Linked DNA regions of Homo sapiens: all the other regions are linked to region 1. Evidence: promoter capture Hi-C in 16 types of primary human blood cells and fetal thymus (Javierre and others, 2016). All regions are on one chromosome and are shown on one strand. Each heading gives the region's core, a stretch centred on a gene start or on the middle of the fragment in contact. The rest is flanking DNA. Distances are from core to core; before and after follow the strand shown. Region 1 holds the start of GAS5 (growth arrest specific 5). Region 2 has its middle 3.8 kb from the start of SUCO. Region 3 overlaps SUCO (SUN domain containing ossification factor). Region 4 has its middle 64 kb from the start of FASLG. Region 5 overlaps MRPS14 (mitochondrial ribosomal protein S14). Region 6 has its middle 80 kb from the start of FASLG. Region 7 has its middle 100 kb from the start of FASLG.

What was found. Contacts are between HindIII fragments. The CHiCAGO score rates a contact against its expected background, and 5 or more counts as called.
Region 2: a contact is called between a fragment that was not itself captured here and the fragment with the promoter of GAS5 in region 1, in 5 of 17 cell types (activated CD4 T cells, total CD8 T cells, non-activated CD4 T cells and 2 more). The highest score is 6.4, in activated CD4 T cells.
Region 3: a fragment that was not itself captured here is called in contact with the fragment with the promoter of GAS5 in region 1 in 1 of 17 cell types (monocytes); the score reaches 5.1 in monocytes.
Region 4: a fragment that was not itself captured here is called in contact with the fragment with the promoter of GAS5 in region 1 in 5 of 17 cell types (naive B cells, monocytes, total B cells and 2 more); the score reaches 7.3 in naive B cells.
Region 5: a contact is called between a fragment that was not itself captured here and the fragment with the promoter of GAS5 in region 1, in 1 of 17 cell types (neutrophils). The highest score is 7.8, in neutrophils.
Region 6: a contact is called between a fragment that was not itself captured here and the fragment with the promoter of GAS5 in region 1, in 2 of 17 cell types (monocytes and total B cells). The highest score is 7.6, in monocytes.
Region 7: a contact is called between a fragment that was not itself captured here and the fragment with the promoter of GAS5 in region 1, in 1 of 17 cell types (naive CD4 T cells). The highest score is 6.5, in naive CD4 T cells.

The regions. Positions count from the first base shown.
Region 1 is chr1:173,866,478-173,869,597 of GRCh38, forward strand. It overlaps GAS5 (growth arrest specific 5), which reads right to left and starts at 1,512. Exons shown (of 12, transcript NR_002578.4): 1 at 1,483-1,512; 2 at 514-566; 3 at 284-319; 4 at 51-90. It overlaps ZBTB37 (zinc finger and BTB domain containing 37), which reads left to right and starts at 1,903. Exons shown (of 5, transcript NM_001122770.3): 1 at 1,903-1,928; 2 at 2,448-2,643. SNORD75 (small nucleolar RNA, C/D box 75) reads right to left here and starts at 461; the gene lies at 402-461. It overlaps SNORD74 (small nucleolar RNA, C/D box 74), which reads right to left and starts at 1,268; the gene lies at 1,197-1,268. It also overlaps SNORD76. RefSeq lists a silencer at 1,938-2,347 and an enhancer at 1,982-3,120. The HindIII fragment of the contact is 5,638 bases long and covers 1-3,120 here.
Region 2 is chr1:172,527,828-172,530,947 of GRCh38, forward strand. No RefSeq gene overlaps it. Among named protein-coding and RNA genes, the nearest start is that of SUCO, 3.8 kb to the right of the region's middle. The HindIII fragment of the contact is 1,005 bases long and covers 1,209-2,213 here.
Region 3 is chr1:172,587,542-172,590,661 of GRCh38, forward strand. SUCO (SUN domain containing ossification factor) reads left to right here. Exons shown (of 24, transcript NM_014283.5): 18 at 1,219-2,385. Among named protein-coding and RNA genes, the nearest start is that of SUCO, 56 kb to the left of the region's middle. The HindIII fragment of the contact is 1,529 bases long and covers 860-2,388 here.
Region 4 is chr1:172,721,607-172,724,726 of GRCh38, forward strand. No RefSeq gene overlaps it. Among named protein-coding and RNA genes, the nearest start is that of FASLG, 64 kb to the left of the region's middle. The HindIII fragment of the contact is 6,552 bases long and covers 1-3,120 here.
Region 5 is chr1:175,013,542-175,016,661 of GRCh38, forward strand. It overlaps MRPS14 (mitochondrial ribosomal protein S14), which reads right to left. Exons shown (of 3, transcript NM_022100.3): 3 at 1-1,310. The coding sequence ends at 1,128. Among named protein-coding and RNA genes, the nearest start is that of MRPS14, 8.3 kb to the right of the region's middle. The HindIII fragment of the contact is 1,233 bases long and covers 1,087-2,319 here.
Region 6 is chr1:172,737,855-172,740,974 of GRCh38, forward strand. No RefSeq gene overlaps it. Among named protein-coding and RNA genes, the nearest start is that of FASLG, 80 kb to the left of the region's middle. The HindIII fragment of the contact is 5,998 bases long and covers 1-3,120 here.
Region 7 is chr1:172,762,448-172,765,567 of GRCh38, forward strand. No RefSeq gene overlaps it. Among named protein-coding and RNA genes, the nearest start is that of FASLG, 100 kb to the left of the region's middle. The HindIII fragment of the contact is 2,855 bases long and covers 65-2,919 here.

The DNA.
Region 1 (3,120 bases), core at 262-2,761:
CTATTTTCTAATCCCTTAAAAGTGAGAAGTACAAAATAGAGGTGTCTCACCTGTGTGCCAATGGCTTGAGTTAGGCTTGCTCTTTAGGACCTGGGAAGAAACAACTTCATGTGAACTTAGGTGTACTCTCTATGTTCCCCAACTCACCATTTTGGGTGCCTCAGTTAAGATAATGGTGGTTAAGATCCTCATCATTCTAGCACTCAAGAGTAGCAAATAAACTGTCATCATTGTGGCACATCCAATGGCTTTAAACCTTTTTGAGAGGGAATTTTCAACTTACTTCAGTAGCTATTCTCATCCTTCCTTGGGGACACAACTAGAAAACAAAAAGATGCAAGCAAAACAGTGAGAATGAACCTCACAGCAGTCACGTTAAATATAAATGCTGTTAACATTAAAGCCTCAGAATAGAATTTCAGAAATCCCTTCTGTCCACTACTCTTAAAGCATCACAGGCTGAGACCACCTCTTAGATTTCATTCTTCCCACCATACTTTCCCCAATTCTTACCTGTCCATAAGGTGCTATCCAGAGCCACACTGCATCTGCACCCAGCACCATACCTAAAGAGATCAGGTACAGATTTTAATTCATTGTTCCACGGTTCTTTTTTTTAAAGAGTGTTCTTTAAAAAAACGGTTCGTCTTTTTAAACCAATGATGCAGGTAACATACCATTCATTATCTAGCGACAGGTAAAGGATACACTTAATGTTACAAAGAAGCACTGCACCCGCAGTTAAGAACCACCGATGGCGGCCGGGCGCGGTGGCTCACGGCTTGTAATCCCAGTATGTTGGGGGACCACGGCTGGTGGATCACCTGAGGTCAGGAGTTCAAGACCAGTCTCGCCAACATGGTGAAACCCCGTCTCTACTAAAAATATAAAAGCCTAGCATGGTGGCGCGCGCCTGTAGTCCCAGTTACTTGGGAGGCTGAGGCAGAACTGCTTAACTCGGGACGCGGAGGTTGCCATTAACCGATGTCGAGCCACTGCATTCCAGCCTGGGTGACAGAACGAGGCTCGGTCTCAAAAAAGAAAAAAGAAACACTAATGGAAATATTGGTGACACTGCGGAATGCAGGCACTTAAGCACGTGGACTACCACCGACAGCCTTTCATGAGAGCGGACGGCTGATGGAGGCTCGGGTCACGGCCCTTAACAATAGCTTACTCGGGTGACTCGGCATGTGCCACCATCAGAGCGGTTGGCATTCATCATTACTCTCAGATGTCCCTACCAACACAGGCTTCATCAGAGGCAGGGCACGAGAGCCGAGGCTTCTCCGCAGTTCTACTCTAACATAGTCGCAGCTTAGGTCACGCATGCACCATATGTGCAATCCCCCACCATCCTCAACTTGTAGGCCCTGCAAAGGCGCGCGACTGGCTTAGAAGTCCCAGTCAATTCAGGGTGACCTTAGCAGACAAAGGCTGGAGCGCCCCAAAACCCGCAACATTCGCAAAGATAAAACATACCTCACAGGAGTCGACTCCTACCTCGAAAAGACAGTATGGTGCCTGGGCTCCTGTATATAAGAGTTCTTTTGATGACGTCACGACGCACGCTCCCGGCAGCGTCCGCTTCGGCTCCTCCCCCTAACCTCCCTCAATCTTCCTCTCATCCAGTATCACCTTCTTCCCACCCCTTAAGTCCGCCCCTTTTCCCCGCCCTTCCTCGCCATTGTGGGCAGAGACATGACCGTCCACGTGATGCCGTGCTCCCGCCCTCCTCCCGACTGAGGAGGAAGAGCAGAGAGGGGAGGGGGCGCGAGGCAAGGAAAGCTCTGGGGATGGGGGAAGGGGGGGCGGTGTAAGGCTGAGTGATTTCCTTCCGGCACGTCGCCCGCTCCGTGGGAGGGGGTGGGGGATTTCACTTCCGGGACGGTGTTCCGGCCCATTCCGGCCCATTTCCACCCCCGGAGGTAGGTGCTGCTCCTTGACTGGACTCGGGCCCCACACCCCAGTGCCACTTCCCTGCACCGGGGTCACCTCGCCCGCCCTCCGCCGCAGCGCGCTCCTGGGGCGCTCAGCTACTTTCCTTCACCCCGCCTCCAGGCACCGGGCGACCTTCCACCCCCTTGGCCCCCGGCCGGGCTGATCTGCCGGACCCGCCCCCTCGCGGGGCCCCTCCCTCAGGACCCCGGGAAGGGCGGCCCCCTCCCCCACCGCAGCCGGGACACACCCAGATACGCACACCCACCTCCTGGCAGCTCCCCGCCCGCCGCCGCCTGGAGCCGGTCCCTGGGCGCCGCCCCCTTCCTAGTTCTCACCTGAGCGCTGGCTCCCCCGCCCGACGCCTTGTCCCCATCTTCTCCGAAGTTCCTCAGTGACATTTTGCCCTTTAGCCAGTTCCCCTCTCCCCAGGCTTCCTAACGCAGAAGAAAGCTGCTCAAGTGCTGGAGTGGCCAACCCCATGCCGTTCCCAATTCTCCCTTTTACAGCTCTCACCCCTCCAGTGCCGACGGTAGCGAAAGACTTTCCTCCAGGGGCTTCCTCACTGGGGAATTGCCGGAAAGAGCAAACAAAAAAGGCGCTGGTGTAGGCTCCAAAATAAACACATCTGAATTCATGATGGCATCGACAGAGGCTCTTATTGGATTAAAAGTTTCAAAACAAACAATAACGCTTTGGAAAAAGGTCAGATTGGCTAAAGTTGATTGTTGAAAACAGTGTATACACTTCCCTATTTAATAAGTGTGTTGTTAATGCGGGGCAGTACTGTGAGCTTGGCAGAGTAAGTTCCTGAAGTTTCAGGTGTGGTGTAACTATGTAATATATAGATAAGTGAACGCACATTGGGCTTAAGTAAATGTCTTCCTGTTCGGATTTATACAAACTATTTTCAGTAGTTGAAACTGTACTTTCAACTATCTTGTATACAGCTTCAGGTTTAGTGTTTCAGCCATTTTTTAAAAATATTTTAATGGAAAAATGTTGGCATACTTGGTAAATGCTGTATTTTTTCATCGGATCTGGAGAACTAAGTTTCAGGATGGAAGTATTCATCACCACCTCGGAATTGCCAACTTCGAATTTGGCAGATTTACCCAGCTTTCCTAATTTTGACAACTGAACTTCACATTCTCTGCATCTTGGTTGAATCCTGGCACAGCT
Region 2 (3,120 bases), core at 461-2,960, 1.3 Mb before region 1:
GAATTGTGACCCCACAGTTTAAAAAACATTGCTCTTTTGCAGGACTTCTTAGTTGGGATCCATGTATATAATTCACAGGTCCATGGAGGGAATAATAATTATATCTCCATTCTCCTAACCTCTACTGAAATTTAGAATTTGATTTTATTGTGAATGTAGGTAACAAACTGTGGTAGTACTGGCTGTATCTACAACTTTGTCACCAATATTAATCACAGATGTTTTCATATCACATTATGCATATTGTAGGTATCTTGGAATGTCTCTTATACTCATCACCATTTTGGAATTATTGACATTAGGAGACCTGCTGTTAGACCTTGTTATTTATGCATTAATGAAAAAGCACACCTTATTAGATCACAAATTTGCTTTGTAATATTTTAATAACTGTATTTCCCTACAATTAGTTTCCTTGGTAATCTATGTGTTTTATTTTATACCTTTATAAACATTCTGAAAAGGGTTTTACCAGACTACCAAAAGGGTTCAGTTCAGAAGATTAAGACTCCCTGCTAGAACGCTAAACTTTTCCTGGAGCAAATTTCTGTCTCAGCATCTTTAATACAAAAAAGGCTCAATAAATATTTACTGAACACTTTATTTCTCCAGGTTACTTAGGGTAACTAGAACCTAGGAAAATCTATTCAGACATAAGTCAAATAATGTTATGCTAAAAAGCTAATTTGGTAATTTATAGAGAAAGAAATAGTTGGCTAGGTGCTCTAGACTAGTCAACTGCATAAAACGTTCTCATCCTAAGGGCTTGCTACTTCTAGGAATTTAAATTATAAGGCAAATTGTAATTTAAGGTGATTAGACAAAGAAATAAGTAAAAAGTAAAAAATTATTTCTTGGGCCTCTGTAATAAAAAAAGTCACTGTGTGATATATATCAATAAAACACATGACCTCTCTGCAATAAGGAATTTATTCACTGCTTGGGGAGACAAATGACTATTAAATAAAAACAGTGTCATGAGGGCAGGCACAGGTGTTTCAGGTCATAATAAACAGTGTGGTCTGGTGAGAAGGTTGAGTTATGAAAGAAAACAGTGGGAAATAAAGCTTGAACTACATCAACTGGGTTTGATTATGGAAAGCTTTGAATGCCAGGCCAAGGAGGCAGGACTTTATTTCACAAATACGTCAGACCTGTAGGAGATTTTTGCATCAAAGAAAGGACATGATGAAGATAATGTTTTAGGAAGCTTCATCTGAGAGCGTTATACAGGAGGTACTAAAGGACGCATCAGTTACAATCCCCAACATGCTGCTTCAGTTGCTACTTTCTCTCCCTATTTTGAATCTTGTACTTGTAAATTCTTGCTAGATACTTCCACCAGAACCTCAATACTGTGCTTCCAAAACCATACTAGTCTCTTAAATTGTAAATCTGCAACTCCTGACTTTCCTACTCATATAATGGCACATACGTTCTTAGAAATTGGACCATCTTTGATGTCTCCTTCTCTGTCACCCACATGTAATCATTCCCTTCCTCTAGTTGATTCCATTATGAGCCTATTCAATTCATGTATCTTCAAAATAAACATATGTTAACGCAGTGATAGAAGACTGAATTTGGGATCACAAAGTAGAATTTTTAAAAAGGGAAATCTTACCTTTTGTTATTTGCAGTAAAAACAGAACCGTGCATGCCAACATTGCACTCTGTGATCTTCCCGCCCTCAGATCTTCCCGCCCTCAAGAGACTGAGTTCTCAGACTGTACTAATAAAGCAATCTATGTCTTCTTCTGATTTCTACCTTTACCTCCTGAAGTGGCCAAATTACCAGTGCTCTGTTAAGGTAGATTAGGCTAAGTAGTTAAGGCTCTTTTCAGGTAGGTAGTAACTAAATAAAGAAGGTATATGCTATTCTACACACATATTTATATATATAAAGAAGATGATCGGGGGGACAGTTTTAAAAGTTCTGTTTATACTTTTTATGCGGTTAAAATGTTAAGTGCTGATTGCCACATTCACCATTTTTCCATCTTATTTAGTCTCTTTTATTGTCCATTTGTCTGTTTTCCATTCCCCAACCTTTCTTTGACTGATTTCCAGGAAACTTCTGTTTTAACTGACTTTTACTCTGGAAGCATCTAAATGTCATTGGTCTCTAAGATCCTTTGGAGACATATAGGATCTCAGCATTTTGTAATATTGAAAGGAGCAGGTAATTTTTCAACTAAATCAAAATACATAAAAGCTTGCTCATGAAATACCACCATCTTAGACAACACAGTTCTCTTGGGTGTCTTAAATATGATTTGTATATGAGATAAAGAACAAACGAGATAGCCAGAAGGGGTTGGTTCCTTTTCTAAGGTCTGCTTGTTCTCTTTTACCATAAGCAAACAGAGTATCTGATCTTTATCAAGGCAGGGACTTGAGCTGCCCAGAGTTTCTGGTTTAGTCACCCTTTTAGGAATGGGAGAACTCATGTTCATTGTGCAGTTTAGGCCCTAGTGACTTGCTGAATAATCCAAGGATCTGCAGGGCAAACGAGTTATCCTGTGTGTGGTCAGTGCTTTATAGATTTTATTGAATTGGGAGATTCTGTTACAGCAGGGTTTCTCAACCTTGGCACTTTTGACTTTTTGGCCAAATAATTTTTGTTGTGGAGGGCTTTCTTGTGCACCGTAGGATGTGAAACAGCATCCCTGGCCTCTACTCACTAGATGCCAGTAGTACTTCTCCAATGTGACAAGCAAAAAATGTGTTCACACAATGCCAATCTCACCCTGGGGGGAAGTCTGCCCCAGGTTGAGAATTACTGTATTATAGTTAAGGGGTGGTTGATAGTGGTTACTTAGCCTAAGCCTTAAAAGATTATATATATAATTAAATATTATATATGAAAGATTATACATTATACATGCTCTTTTTCTATATTCTTTCTTGCCATTTTTGGCATATGTTATACTTTTAAGTATGGTGACATTCATCTATACTAGTTTTATTTTATATAACTATTACTCACTTTCTTATACTTGTCTATTGAGTTGTAAGAAAATTTTCTCTGTTCTTTTTCTCATTATATTTAACAGATATGTGGAAAAATGTCTACCAGTTCTTTAAAGGTCAGCTCTATGGAACTTCTATTTATTTCAT
Region 3 (3,120 bases), core at 374-2,873, 1.3 Mb before region 1:
ATTACCTGAATATGTAAGAAATATTATTAGAGACTAAATATATATGGCTATAAATATCTTTTTATTTACCGAAGTGTAGTCTAATTATGTTTTAATTTGGTCCATTTACTGTTTTACTACCAAAATGAAAGTCTACATCATAGATACTATTTTATTACTTTCTTCTGTCTTTGCTATTGTGACATTAGTCTTTATTTGAAGACATTTCCTGGCATGCTTAGTAATTTTTCAGAATGGGAAAATGTGTGTTTGAGCATAATTATTTTTGGTATTGAAATTACCATATTTTTTCATATTGGACTTTTTATGTATAAGGCTACACCCAGTAATTAACTATCTTTATCTTGGAAGGAATCACAAGCATTATAATTTATAACACTGTCCCCATAAGCTTCATCCCCCCACTCTCCTGTATGCCACATACATACTCCACAGCCTCAAAATGGGATAGAATATTAATAGTGGCACTAGTAGTTTAATAGCAGCACTGTTAGCATATCATAAGCCAGAATTGTTATTAAAGTGGTTAGGTATTTGGCTTAGAAGATTAGCCTAGATGATAGCAAAATTATTTTAGGAAGGGAGATATGTTTCTTGTCCTTAAAGTAGATAATCCTATGTGTGTAGGTGTGTGTGTGCGTTGTGTGTTTAATGCTGTATTGGAGTTCCTCAAATCATTCTTAGAAAAATTATGTTTGAGACCAACCTAGCTGCCTTTTGAAAATAGGGTATTCAAGTACAAAGTGCACTCATAAATATTAAGAATCCTAGATTCTAGTTTTAGCTCTGGACCTTATTTAAGCTAGTTTATTAAGCTAGCTCTTAGTTGGCTTAATTTCTGATGTGTAAGGGATAGTGAAGCTTGTAAAGATTCAGTGAATATTTATGAGAGGAAAGGAACACTACATTCAGTGAATGGAAGTATTCACTTAGAAACAATTCTTAAACAGATTAAAAGAAAGCAAGTTTGATATGGTAAATATGGTGGTTTGAGTCATCTGGCTAGTCACTTGATAAATAGTATTTCTCTTATCATTTCTGAGCAGTATTTGTTTTTATAATAAAAGTGTTTTGTAGGTGAAACATTTATCCAAAAACAAATTTCTTCTATATTTCCAACCTTTTATCTTCTGTATGGATACATTTATTTTTCTTTAACATATTTCAACTTTAGACTTCTAAGTAAGTGATTTATAATTATGATATATGTATTTCTAGGTATGTAACCACTGAAGTACACACACATGACATGGAGCCGTCAACACCAGATACTCCAAAAGAGAGTCCCATTGTACAGTTAGTTCAAGAGGAGGAAGAGGAGGCAAGTCCATCTACAGTGACCCTTCTGGGCAGCGGTGAACAGGAAGATGAATCATCACCCTGGTTTGAGTCAGAGACACAAATATTTTGCAGTGAACTGACCACAATTTGTTGTATTTCTAGTTTTTCAGAATACATATATAAATGGTGTTCAGTTAGAGTTGCTCTTTATCGGCAGCGCAGCCGAACTGCTTTGAGTAAAGGAAAAGATTATCTTGTGTTAGCTCAACCACCCTTACTACTTCCTGCGGAATCAGTAGATGTTTCAGTATTGCAACCTCTGAGTGGAGAATTGGAAAATACGAATATAGAAAGGGAAGCTGAAACTGTTGTTCTGGGTGATTTAAGTAGTAGTATGCACCAGGATGACTTGGTGAATCACACTGTAGATGCAGTTGAACTTGAACCAAGCCATTCTCAAACTCTTTCTCAGTCTCTTCTTTTAGATATTACCCCAGAAATCAATCCCTTGCCTAAAATAGAAGTATCTGAGTCTGTTGAATATGAGGCAGGACATATACCATCACCAGTGATTCCCCAAGAGAGTTCTGTTGAGATCGATAATGAAACAGAACAAAAGTCTGAGAGCTTTAGTTCTATAGAGAAACCATCTATTACCTATGAAACAAATAAAGTTAATGAGTTAATGGATAATATTATAAAAGAAGATGTGAACTCCATGCAAATTTTCACAAAGCTGTCTGAAACAATAGTGCCACCAATAAATACAGCCACTGTACCCGACAATGAAGATGGGGAAGCCAAAATGAATATAGCTGACACAGCAAAGCAAACTTTGATTTCTGTTGTGGATTCTTCTTCATTACCTGAAGTAAAAGAAGAAGAACAGTCTCCAGAAGATGCCCTTTTGAGAGGGTTACAGAGGACAGCTACAGATTTTTATGCTGAATTGCAAAATTCTACAGATCTAGGATATGCTAATGGAAATCTTGTACATGGATCAAACCAAAAGGAGTCAGTATTTATGAGACTTAATAATCGTATTAAAGCCTTAGAAGTTAACATGTCTCTCAGTGGTCGCTATCTGGAGGAGCTTAGCCAAAGGTAAGCTTTATTATGAATTAGCACAGTCAGCTTCACACAGTGAGTTAAGCAGCATAGAGTATGACCTGTGATTACAGGAGAGGATTTAATTATCTCATGATATAATAGAGGTAAGCGCAATTTTAGCAAGAGAGAGAAAGAAAGCTACTTGAATGCTGATCAGTGCCTTAATGAATTGATTTTTTGTTTTTAATTTTAAAAGTACTTTCCAGTGACAAAACACTTTTATTAGGCTGGCAACAAGTTTGAATTATCTATACTCACTTTCACCTTTTTTCGGTTGCTTAACTTTAGCCACTTTTTCTGCTTGATTCCCAGAGGGCTCATGGAAAAAAATGATAGTATATAGACCTTAAAGCTTTTAGTGGAATTTGACCAGATATCACTTAAGAGTTTAGATAAGTGAAGACAGAGATGGACTGAACTGGATGATTGGGCACATTTGCAGTTTGCTCTCTTTTAAACAGGTCTCGGCATCCTAGTTCTAGTTGTAATAATTTCTGCTTTTAAGTGCCAGAGACAGTGCCAATTCATTAAGACACCAGGCCTGGCTTTTTAAACCTATTTACTCTTTTTTTTATCCTCTGTGTGTCCATTGTCTGTCCTTAGGGCTTCTCTACCAACGTTTTGCAAACATCTAGGCACAAGTGTCCAGAGTTCCTGAAACACCACCTTTTCTTACATCTCTTAAATTGAAATGCCACTAATAAGGTGTCACCAAGGCAGTCTTATATC
Region 4 (3,120 bases), core at 263-2,762, 1.1 Mb before region 1:
TACTTTTAGGTGATTGTAGAATAATTAGGCAGTATAGAGAAACCCCTGGAATTGGAATGTGGGGTCACGAAAAGTTGCCTTTTAAAAAACAAAATAATGAAAATCAATCAATTATTAGTACATTTTGTTTGCCAAGCTATTCCCGGAACCAAGCCAGGTCCGACTGCGTTTTCTCCAGTCCCAATAATGAGAAGCAGACAAACTAGGAAAGAAGGGAATTTATCACTGTAACCAGATACACAGAGAAGGCCGGAGGTAATTCCACCAACTCAAAGTGTTACAATTTTCTTAGCGCTTATATAGGTTGGGGCTATGTGCCTATGTGCAGTATAGCATTCGCCTAAGTCTATTGGTAACTGATTCTGTTTCAACTAGAAGGTCAGAGGCAAAAATTGCTTGCTAAGTCCAATTAAAAGGGCCCCAGTACCTTCAAGGCCTGTCTACTGCGGTACCAGAGTGATTATTTCTATCTCATCTCCTTTACAGCTTGGTCCGGAGAGCTGCCTTAGACTCTCCGATGAATCTATTCAAACAGCTGCCTCTGTTACCTTGACTTGTCTCAGATTTTGTCAATGCAAGATGGGTCCTGGCAGTAGGAATGTAAGACTGTCTCTATTATTTTGGTTTGCTCCAGGTTAGGGAGAAGCCCATGCAAGGTTCCTACTGACCATATGTTTCATTTCTAGTTTTGATGTCTGGGCATTGATTTCCCTAGGTTTGACTATTTGCTCAATGGTAAGACAGTGCTATGGAAATTTGTCTGTGTAACTGGAGTGCTATGTAGGCCTGTCTGTGTGACTGTCATGCAGGCCTGTCTGTGTGATTGTCAGGGAGAATTGGCCTGCCACAAAGCCATCTGTAAAATATCCTACTCTAAGGAATAATTTCTAACTATGTTGCTGATGGGAATTTAAGAGTTATTCACATACAAATAAGAATAGTTACATGTAACTAACTTTTACTGACTAAAATGTGTATTTTACAGGCAGGGCACAGTGGCACACACCTGTAATCCTAGCACTTTGGAAGGCCAAGGCAGGCAGATTGCTTGAGCCCAGGAGTTTGAGATCAGTCTAGGCAATATGGCAAAGCACTGTCTCTATAAAAAATACAAAAATTATCCAGGCATGGTGGTGCATTCCTGTAGTCCCAGCTCTTCAGGAGGCTGAGGCAGGAGGATCACTTGAGCCTGGAAGGTTGAGGCTGCAGCGAGCAGAGATCGTGCCACTGCACTCTAGCCTGGGCAACACAGCAAGACCCTGTCTCATACACAAAATATGTATTTTAGTGTCAGACAACAATAATATTTTGATAGTAAGCATTTTTCTCTTTAGCTATTACTATTCCATGTTGCAGACATCAGTTTTGTGTTTCGCATGTTAAAGTTTGAAGTGGCCTTAAAGGACATCTAGTTTATCCCAGTCCTTGAATGTAAACAGATTTTAAAAACGAAGAAGCGACAATCCAGGTGGGCTGGAACTTCTCCACATGAGGTGCAAATTATTAGCAGGGTAGAGCGTAAATCTCAGATCTGACTTCCCATCGCATGTTCTTTCAGATATTGTGGCTTGATTGGCCTTATTCCAGACCCTTGGAAGTCCAGGTGTCAAGAGTAGGGAAGGCCTTTTTCAGTAAGAACTTTGCAGTCTAGTGGAAAAAAACAGGTAAGGACTGAACTCTGACATTTTTACTTTCTCAGATTTCTTTTTAAGGGCCCACAGGGAGTCAAATCTACAAGACATAAAATTATGTTAAACAAGTTTTTTTGACCCAGTATATTGTGGCTTACTTTTGCAACCAGACTCTGGTATGGCATCATGTAACAGAAAACAGACCCCCTTGTCTTAACTGAAGCATTCCTTTCTACTGACTCCAAGTTTTTAGACAAAGCTCAACTCTTTCAACCAATTGCCAACTAAATAATCCCTAAACTCACCTGTGTCTTGTAAGCTCTCACTGCCAGATGTCCTGCCTTTTTGAATAGACTCAATGTACAACTCCCATGTATTCGTTTATGTTTTGACATGCAATTTCTGTCTCCCTCCCAAACGTTAACCCAACTGCCTTGGGCACACTTTCTCGGGACCTCTTGAGACAGTTTCCCCAGGCCATAGTCACTCATATTGGCTCAGAATAAACCTCTTTAAATATTCTGGCAGAGGTTGATTTTTTTGTTGTTACCAGTAACTGGCACCTATACTAAAAGAATGTAATTAGGGATACAGTGAATATATAAGCAACACACATGTTTTAGGAAAACAGTTGAAGAGATACTTTACTCTTCCTGAAAAGGATTAAGGAAGTCTTATAGAAAGTGTTTTTTTATATATAGCAGTATTCATTTTCAGGACTCTGAAATAACAGGGAAATCTCCCAGGAGCTTTGGTATGGTGACCCATAAATAGTGACCTGAAAGCATGAGTATGAGATGCTTTTAGCAATTTCAGTCCAATATGCATAGCACAGTCTCATTTAAGAACAATATATGTGTATGTCATGGACATAGAGAATGGAAAAATAGACATTGGAGATAACAAAATGGGAGAGTGGGAGGGACATGGTAAGAGTTGAAAAATTACCCATTGGGTACAATGTTCACTATTCAGGTCATGGGTACACTAAAAGAACAGACATCACCACTAAGCAATATATACATGTAAGAAATCTGTGCTTGTACCCCCTAAATGTCTAAAAATTTTAAAAATTAAAAAATAAAAAGAATATTTGTGTATTTGTGTGTGTATAATCACAGAAAGAAGTCTCTAAAGTTATATAACAAAATGACTGTAGTTTTCTGGGAGTGGGAGGGGTGGGGTTAAGATGAATAGGGGTGGGGTAGGCTCAAAGCATTCTGGGAATGAAAGTGAAACTTCTTTTAGTATTTATGTCCTTTTTATGTGATGAAATTATGTGAGGTTTTTACTTTACTGTGCATATTTCAATTAAGAAAAAGATGTGCAAGTCTCTTTCATCCTTGTTTTCTTCCATGGGTTTCAAATCAGAATCCTTTGTACTCTTGATGTAATGGCAAATATTTTGGGGAAACAATTTATTTTTTAATTCTCTCTTTATTAGAGCTCCTCCTCTCAAAGATTCTGGCATAACATGTGGAGCCCTGTC
Region 5 (3,120 bases), core at 453-2,952, 1.1 Mb after region 1:
ACAACTAAGACATCCTCCTAACTGGTTGTCTTGCCTGTAGCTTTTTCCTCTCATGGCCATCTGCCACACAGCTGTCACTTACCTGTATTACAAACTGATGATGTCATTCCTGTGCTTAAAACTCTGTAATACCTGGTATGTCAGTCTTAATTCCTTCACATGATTTGTGAGATCCTCCACAATACGGGCCTTGTCTTGTGCTTCATATTTCTGATCTACTGAAGTGACTGTGGTTCTCTGATGCTACAGAGTGCCTTTGCTTCTTTGTGCTTTTGTTCCCTCTGTGTGCAGAAAAAAATCTCACCCCTCACCTCCTGATTTATTAAGTTCTCCAGGAATATTTTCCTGATGTTAAGTAGGTACTTCCATTCAGTATGTATATTTTTATCACTGGGCTGATGATCACACTGTTGAGTTACTGAATGAGAACTTTGTGCTACCCTTACTCATTTCTGTTATGGATTAAATAAACATAAAAATAGGGAATATATACTGTTCCAACAAACTTTTCCTCTTTAGATGGAGACTTTCAAGGACTTAAAGAGGCATAATTTGTTTTAAAGTCCCTTAAGGATGGACAAGAAAACACTTAGTGGTTCTTTTGTTCAGCCATCACAAGAAGAAGTGGAGCATTAGATAATCCAGAACAGCAGCCTTGCTATCCAATCTGTTTATCTAACAATAATAGTTAAGGGGAGCTCTGCAGGTCAGCAAAGCTAGTCCAGGATTACAAACTGCCATACATGAGCTACATGTCAATTAGTTGGATTATGTATAAGATAGCATTTTATGAAATAATGCTCTTAATACAAAAACCCCTATATGTTACTAAAAGATTAAACTTAAAAGGAGGGTATAAAAAACATTCACAGAAAATATTTATTATGCTACTCTTTGTACTATGTATGGGAACAGTATGTTTGTTAAGTCCAAGAGAAAAGATAATTCACTGACATGAAACACCCAAATGTCTTCATTTTAAAAGTAGTTTAGAGATAGCATCAGGTAGGCCAAACAACTGTACTGGGCCCCTGTAGAGATTAGGGTTTGGTCTATTAAAAAAAATCTTTGCTTGCTGGAACTGCAAGCTTGGCTTCCCTGCAAGCTCAATAGGTTCTGGAGCTCATTTACCATGTCGCTCGCTGGATCCCAGAAAGTTGCCCATGGTCAGCTAAGTGACGGAAGACTATACGACTAAGCCTCCAGCGCCGCTTCACACCACGCGGACGGGACGTCATAACACACCGATTTCTGATTCTAACAGGACAGCTATCCCGGGGGAGGGCAGCAATTTCTTCATCAGCCACATCCTAAGGGAAATCACATTATTACACAGATCACATTACATTGTTGCACATGTATTTTGCTCCTTCTCACTTGCAGGTAATTTTCTTTTCTTTTTTTTTTTTTTTTGAGACAGAGTCTCGCTCTGTCACCCAGGCTGTGGGTGTTAGATTGTGCAATGTCACAATCTCAGCTCACTGCAACCTCCGCCTCCTGGGTTCAAGTGATTCTCCTGCCTCAGCCTCCCGAGTAGCTGAGATTACAGGTGTGCACTACCACACTCAGCTAATTTTTTGTATTATTAGTAGAAACGGGGTTTCACCACGTTGCCCAGGCTGGTCTCAAACTCCTGAGCTCTGGCAATCCGCCCATCTCTGCCTCCCAAAGTGCTAGGATTACAGGTGTGAGCCACAGCGCCTGGCCACTGGCAGGTAATGTTCATTGCATGAGTACCATAATTCATTTATCCATCCTACATTTGATGGTCATCTTACGATTTGGGCGAATATAAATAGTGCAGCTACATACTCTTGTTTAACTCATTTGTAAAGTATGTGAATGTATTTCTGTTGCCGCCTCATGTTTTTTGAATCACGAAAGTGAAACCTCTGGAATGATGATCAAATAGGAGGGAATGTGGCTTGAGATAAGACTAGAGAAGGAGGAAGGAGAGTATCACATGGAGCCCTGATGTCTATGGTAAAGATTCTGACAGCTAGAGAAGTAAAGGGGAGAGATCAGATGAGGTTTATATTTAAAAAAAATCATTTGCAAGGTAGAGGATGAATCAGGTAAGGGCAAAGTGGTTGAGGGGAGAAAAGTAGGGATTACAGCAGTAGCTAGGGCTCAGGTTTTGTCAGTAGAGATTTCTTCTTATGTATGTGTTCAAGAGTGTGAGTGTTCATAATATTCACTTTAATCTGATAAGTGTGCTAACAAGTAGATGGACCCTGTGCTAGACTGCGGTGCAAGCAAAATAACACATTAAAATAACACAAATTAAATGAAAGTATATAAAAGCCAAAAATTAACAAAAGCTTATGCATGTGTTACCATTATGAACTAACAGAATTACATAAAACAACATGATTGCCAGGCACAGTGGCTCACGCCTATAATCCCAGCACTTTGGGACGCCGAGGCAGGCGGATCATCTGAGGTCAAGAGTTCGCGACCAGCCTGACCAACATAGGGAAACCCCATCTCTACTAAAAATACAAAATTAGCTGGGTGTGGTGGCACATGCCTGTAATCCCATCTGGCCGGGAGGCTAAGGCAGCAGAATCGCTTGAACCCAGGAGGCAGATGTGGTGAGCCCAGATTGTGCCACTGCACTCCAGCCTGGGCAACAAGAGCAAAACCCCATCTCAAAAAAAAAAAAACAAAAAAAAACCATGATTGAGCCATTGAGTAGTAAACAATAAATGCTATACAAGGAACTGGAGAGGAGAAATGACTGGGCAAGAAGATTGAAGCCAAGTTTCATGGAGGTGGACCTTAAAGAATGGCTAGAAATTATGGATTGATTGATTGATACATACCCCTTCCTTCTTGTTCCCCGAAAGATTTAAGGCAGTTTACAAATGAGGAAACTGGGGCAAAGAGAAATGAGAGTAGGAAAGATAAAAGCCTCAGGACACAAAAGTGCATGCTGTGAAATTAGAACTGGGACATAAATTTGACTTGTAAGCTACTTGGCAGGCAGCAGAGAACCATGATCAGTTTACATGATTCACAGACTCTGCACAGTTATTGCTGCTAGTCATACCAGAGACATGTCTTCTGGGTATCTTCATAAAGGTACTCAAACAACACACCCCCAGCTGTATTAATGTA
Region 6 (3,120 bases), core at 299-2,798, 1.1 Mb before region 1:
TTAGGTTTACTTTTTTATTATTTTATAATTTCTTCCCTCTGGTTTTTATTTCTCTATTTACTATTCTTTGCCATGCTTTATATTATAGGCATACCATGCCTTCAGCAAGTCATAATCTTTTTGCTGGTGGAATATTACATTGAATCTGTAGATCACTTTGGGTAGTATGAACATTTTGATATTGATTCTATAATACATAAACACAAGATATCTTTCCATTTATTTGTGGTTTCTTTTTCTTCCACTCCTTTCATTAATGTTTTAAAGTTTTCAGTATACAGATCTTTCATCTCCCTGGTTAAATTTATTCCTAAGTATTTTCTTCTTTTTGATGCTATAGTAAATTGAATTGTTTTCTTAATTTCTTTTTTGAATAGTTAATTGTTAATGTATAAAAATGCAACTTATTTTTGTATGTCGATTTTCTGTTTTGTAACTTTAGTGAATTCACTTGTTAGTTCTAACAGTTTTTTTGTGTTTGGAGTCTTTAAAGTTTTCTATATATGGCCACGTCATCTGCAAAGAGAGACAATTTTACTTCTTCTTTTCTGATTTAGATGGCTTTTATTTCTTTTTCTTTCATAATTTCTCTGCCTAGGACTTCCAGTACAATGTTGAATATAAGTGGTGGGAGTTGGTATCCTTATCTTGTTCCTGATCCTAGAGGAAAGGCTTCCAACTTTTCACTATTGAATAGAATGTTAGCTGTAGGCTTGTGATATATGACCTTATCGTGTGGAAGTACATTATTGCTAAACGCAATTTGTTGGGAGTTTTTGTCATAGAAGCATACTGATTTTTTTTTCAAATGCTTTTTCTGCATCTATTGAGATGATCATACAATTGTAATCCTTCATTCTGTTAATGTGGTGCATCACATTTAGTGATTTACATTTGTTGAACCATCCTTGCATCATAGGGATAAATCTCATTTGATTATAGTGTAGGATTCTTTTAATGTGCTGTTTAATTCAATTTGTAGCTGTTTTGTCAGAGGATTTTTGCATTTACGTTCATCAGGAATATTGACCTGTAATCTTTTCTTGTAGTGTCTTTGTCTGACTTTAGCATCAGGATAGTACTAGCCTCATAAAAATCCCTTTGTAAGTTTTCCCTCCTCTTCGATTTTTTTGGGAGAGTGAGAATGATTGGTATTCATTCCTCTTTCAATGCTTAATAGAATTCACCAGTGAGGCCATCTATTATTGGGCTTTAATTTGATGGGAGATTTTTGATTCCTGATTTAATCTTATTACTCATTATTGGTATGTTCAGATTTTCTATTTCTTTTTGTTTCAGACTTGATAAGTTTTATGTATATATATATATATATATATATATATATATATATATATATATATATACACATACATATTTAGGATTTATCCATTTCTTATAGACTGTTCAGTTTTTTGGTGTATAATTGTTTCTTGTAGTCTCTTACAATCCTTTGTATTTCTGTGGTATTTGTCATAACGTCTCTTCTTTCATTACTGATTTTATTTGAGTTTTCTTTCTTTTTTTCTTAGTGTAGCTGAATTTTAAAAATCTTCTCAAAAAAACCTTTTGGTTTCATTGATCTTTTATATTGCTTTCTAGTCTCTGTTTCACTTATTTCTGCTTGGATCTTTCTTCTATCAACTTTGGGCTTAGTTTGTTCTTCTCTTTCTAGTTCCTTGAAGTGTAACATTAAGTTGTTTACTTGAGTTCTTTCTTTTTAATGTAGGCATTAACTACCGTGAACTTCCCTCTTATAACTGCTTTTGCTACATCCCTTAAGTTTTAGTATGTTTGTTTCCATTTTTGTTTGTCTCAAGATATTTTAAAATTTCCCCTTTGATTTCTTTTCTTTACCCATTAACTGTTCAGGAACACATTATTTAACTTCCACATATTTTTGAATTTTCCTGTTATTAATTTCTATTTTCATACCATTGTGATCAGAGAAGATACTTGGTATGATTACAATTTTCTAACATATTTAAATACTTCTTTTGTGGCCTAACATATGATCTATCCCAGAGAATGTTTCATGTGCACTCAAGACAAATGTGTACATGCTTCTGTTGGAGAGAGTGTTTTGTATACATCTGTTAGGTCCATTTGGTCTAAAGTGTAGTTTAAGTCCAATATTTCCTCATTGATTGTATGAATGATCTATTAATTGTTGAAAGTGAGGTATTGAAGTCCTCCACTATTATTGTTTTACTGTCTATTCCTCCCTTCAGATCTATTAGTATGTGTTTTATGTATTTAGGCACTCTGATGTCGCCTGCATATATATTTATAATTGTTATATCTTCTTAATATATTGATTCCTTTGTCATTAAAAATTGCCTTCTTTGTTTCTTTTTACAGTTTTGACTTAAAGTCTATTTTGACGTAAGTATAGCTACATTTGCTATCTTTTCCTTTCCATTTTCATGGAATGTCTTTTTCTATCCCTTCACTTTCAGTCTATACATGTCCTAGAAGCTGAAGTAAGTATCTTATAAAGAGCATATAGTTAGGGTTTAAAAAAATCCATTCAGGGCTAGGTGTGGTGGCTCATCCCTGTAATCTCAGCACTTTGAGAAGCTGAGACAGGCAGATCACTTGAGGTCAGGAGTTTGAGACCAGCCTGGCCAACATGGGGAAATGTGTCTCTACTAAAAATACAAAATATTAGCCAGGTGTGGTAGTGTGCACCTGTAGTCCCAGCTACTTGGGAGGCTGAGGCAGGAGAATCACTTGAACCTGGGAGGGAGAGGTTGCAGTGAGCTGAGACTGTGCCACTGCCCTCCTGCCTGGGTGACAGAGCGAGACTCCATTTCAAAAACAAACAAACAGACAAACAAAACCACCCCATTCAACCACTCTATTTATTTTGCTTAGAGAATTTAATCTATTTACTTTCAAGGTAATTATCAGTAGGTAAGAACTTCCTATTGCCATTTTGTTAGATTTCTCTTTCTTTCTTTCTTTCTTTTTTTTTTTGCTTATTTTGAGTCTTCTTTTGTGATTTGATGATTTGTTGTAGTGGTATGCTTTGATTTTTTTCTTTGTCTGTTATATATCTACTATAGGTTTTTGTTTTGTGGTCACCAAGATGTGTATATATAACGTCTTATAGGTATAACA
Region 7 (3,120 bases), core at 242-2,741, 1.1 Mb before region 1:
AATTAGGACAATAGGGTGACTTGTGGCTGAATTCCAAGGATCATTATTGCTGAGACATTTTATAAGCTTGAGAAATCTGATTTATTGCCAGCCTCTATCAATACTACTCTTTCTCCTCCTAGCTACATTCATAATTCCTCTTGTTTCTCATTCTCCCAGCTCAGGAAAATGCTGGTGTCTTCAGATGCCTTTAGAAAAGACAGGCGGGTTCCTCAAGTCCATACATAGCCACGTCCTCCTAAACACGCCTATTGCCATAACTTCTCCTATGTCCTCAGAAAGTGGGAGGAAGAAAGGAAGAGACATAAACGGTTTTGAGATCAAGTTCACCCTTTAGTATTCCCTAGGTTTATTATATGTGTTAATAAAAATGGGGTTCTGTTCTTGTTTCTGTAGTTGACTTTGGGAAACTTTTGAAGAACCTAGGTGTTTTTTTGTAATAAAGTACCTGTTGGCATTGTGGGGACTAAACTACTTTGACTGTGTTTCCGTAATATGAACATAATATATAATCGTTGCTTTCAATCATTATAAGTTTATTGTTCTAGGTTCTGTATTTGCATGCTGACATGATGTAATTGGTTCAGCTCATTTTTTTTTGTTTGTTTTCATGAAGATTCTTCCTTGGAAGTTAGATTTGTCATTCTCTAGTGAGCTATTCAGAAAGCACAGTTGTATTAGGACAGCAAATTATTCATGAAAGTAATGATTCTGGCAACCTGACAGAAGGGAAAACCAAATACCCAAATGAATAAATCTGTTTTCCCCTTTCCCACAAGTTCAATTCGTCTCTATCCCACAGAATCCACTGTAAGGCTACAGAAGGTGCTGTCCCTGATCCCAGCTGGGGAATTCCTTGGTTCTTTCCAACAATTATGGTTTACCAAAATTGTCCTTACTCTGTGCTATGATCTATGTCATCGGTAACATTGTGCTTTCTCAAGGAATTGTCTGCTTATGGACTTGTCTGCTTACTAGACTTAGAGCTCCTTGAAGACTTGGGTAGCATTTTCTTCATCTCTTCATTCTCAGGGCTGGTACATTGTAAAGGAAGGCTTTACCTAGGGGTGCCCAGGAGCTTAATTTGCATGCCCACCTCAGGAAACTTGCTATATGAGGACAGACCACAGGTACTGTTTGCATTAGGGTCTCCTGGGCTAACTAGAGAGAGACATTCTGGAACTGATGATACCGAATAAAGAGTTATTTAGATAGAGAACAATGACTTGCAGGATAGGAAGAGAGATGTCTTGGGAGATGGGCAGTGAGTGCCACTAATATAAAATGTCGTGGTGGCTGGGATGCTGGCTTATAATTAGGGGGATCAGTTTTGAGTTGATCCTAGTATGGTGTTACTTTAATGCATTCTGGCCTAATCTTTGGGACTATGTCCCGGATTCTTTGATAAAGAACGCTGTGAGATAAAGCATTAAACCTCCTTTGGGTATTGACTCAGAGCTAGGGCAGGGGATGTAGGCATCATATTGGTGAGGCTTGCAACTACTGTGGGCTAGTCTCTCACTTCTGGTGGGAGTTGGGGTCCACAGCCAAGTGGTCACCATTTTATTGAGAAGAACACCAGCTGTAGGGATAGAACCCACAGTGACAGACATCAGCATCCATTCAACAGAGCAGTAGACACTGGGTTACTAGAGAAAGGATGAGACTTGGGAGCCTTGGAGCCATGTCAACACAGTTCAGAGGCTGAAGAGATCAAAGATACTTTAGTTGCTACCCAGCATAGGCCAGGGGGCTTGGGTTACAGCTACCTAATTGTATAATCATAGACACCTTAAGTCAGGCAGTTGGCTTGATAAACAGATGGAAAAGCAGTCAGCTTTCTTAACAATCCTATCATTCCACCCTTTTAGTGAGAACAAATAATTTGGTAGTTCCCCAGGGAAAATCATGCTCTTGGGCAGAGATGCCATTTTCCCATGAGGGAGGTGTGTTTGACCAAGTCTATTCTCTGTATAAAAGGTCTCTTCAGATTAGATCAGATGCACAGTTGGGGTTTGCGTAGGGGCAACCCACAGGTGAGAAGCACCTCACTTGGGTTTGTATTTGAGTGGGCTGAGCCAATGCAGAACATTGTGAGGAGCCTAATGGGCTTCAGAACGTCAGTTTCAGTCCCATGTGACTGGTTGGCTGGCTGCCCACCTGCTGCTCTGTCTCTAGCAAAGCTCAACATTCAACCTTTGAAAGTGTTCTCACATGTAGATCCTGTTTATGTAGGAAGTTTGATCTAACGCCCACAGTCACACAAGTGCTTTAATTACATACTGGAAGGGTATCCTCTTGCTCCTACCCATGTCTCAATACTGCACAGAGCAGATATGCTGCTGTGTTCTCTACACCTTGAATTTCTAAAGTGGAATCACCTCCCACAAAACTGTCCATCTCTCAGTGGGTACTGTTCTGACCAGCTGGCCTATGTGGTTTGCATTGCTGCCATGTTGGGGGTTATTGATTAAAAATAAAATAAAATTAATCAAGATGAATTGCTTACTTCTCTCCCTTAGATTTCTTTTATTTTGATGCTCTTATTCCACTCCTCTATTATCTTTATACTATATCTCTCTTTAGTAAACCAGAATGAATTGCTCAAAAAATTTGTTATTCAAATATGAGACATCTTTTAGTTTACAAATTATTTTCTTGAATTGCAACACATTTTCTTTTGAAAATGCTGTGGTAACTAATGACCCCCAAATCCAAGTGGGATATACAGGTTTGTTTCTTGCTCAAGTTACATGTCCATCATTGACCAGTTGAGGCTCTGGTCAATGTCATCTTCATTGTGGGACCCAGGATGCTGGTGTGGCCTCTAACCGGGATGCTGCTGGGCTCATGGGAGAAGGAAGTAGGGCCTAGTGATCACATGCTGTCTCTTAAAGTTTCTTCTTGTAAGTGAAAAGAAGCTTTTGAAGCTCCCCCTCTTAAATTCCCCTAAGAATTCCTTCCAGGGTTTATTTGACCCAAAGAGAGATCAGTCCTTTTCTAATGCTAGGTATAGGGAGAACTGGGCTTTGAACAGTATGTTGCCCATCACCACTTGGGGTTGCTGCTGAAGACAAGTCAGGTATGTCCCTCCAGTGCTGCTTGTCCACTGAAGCAGCA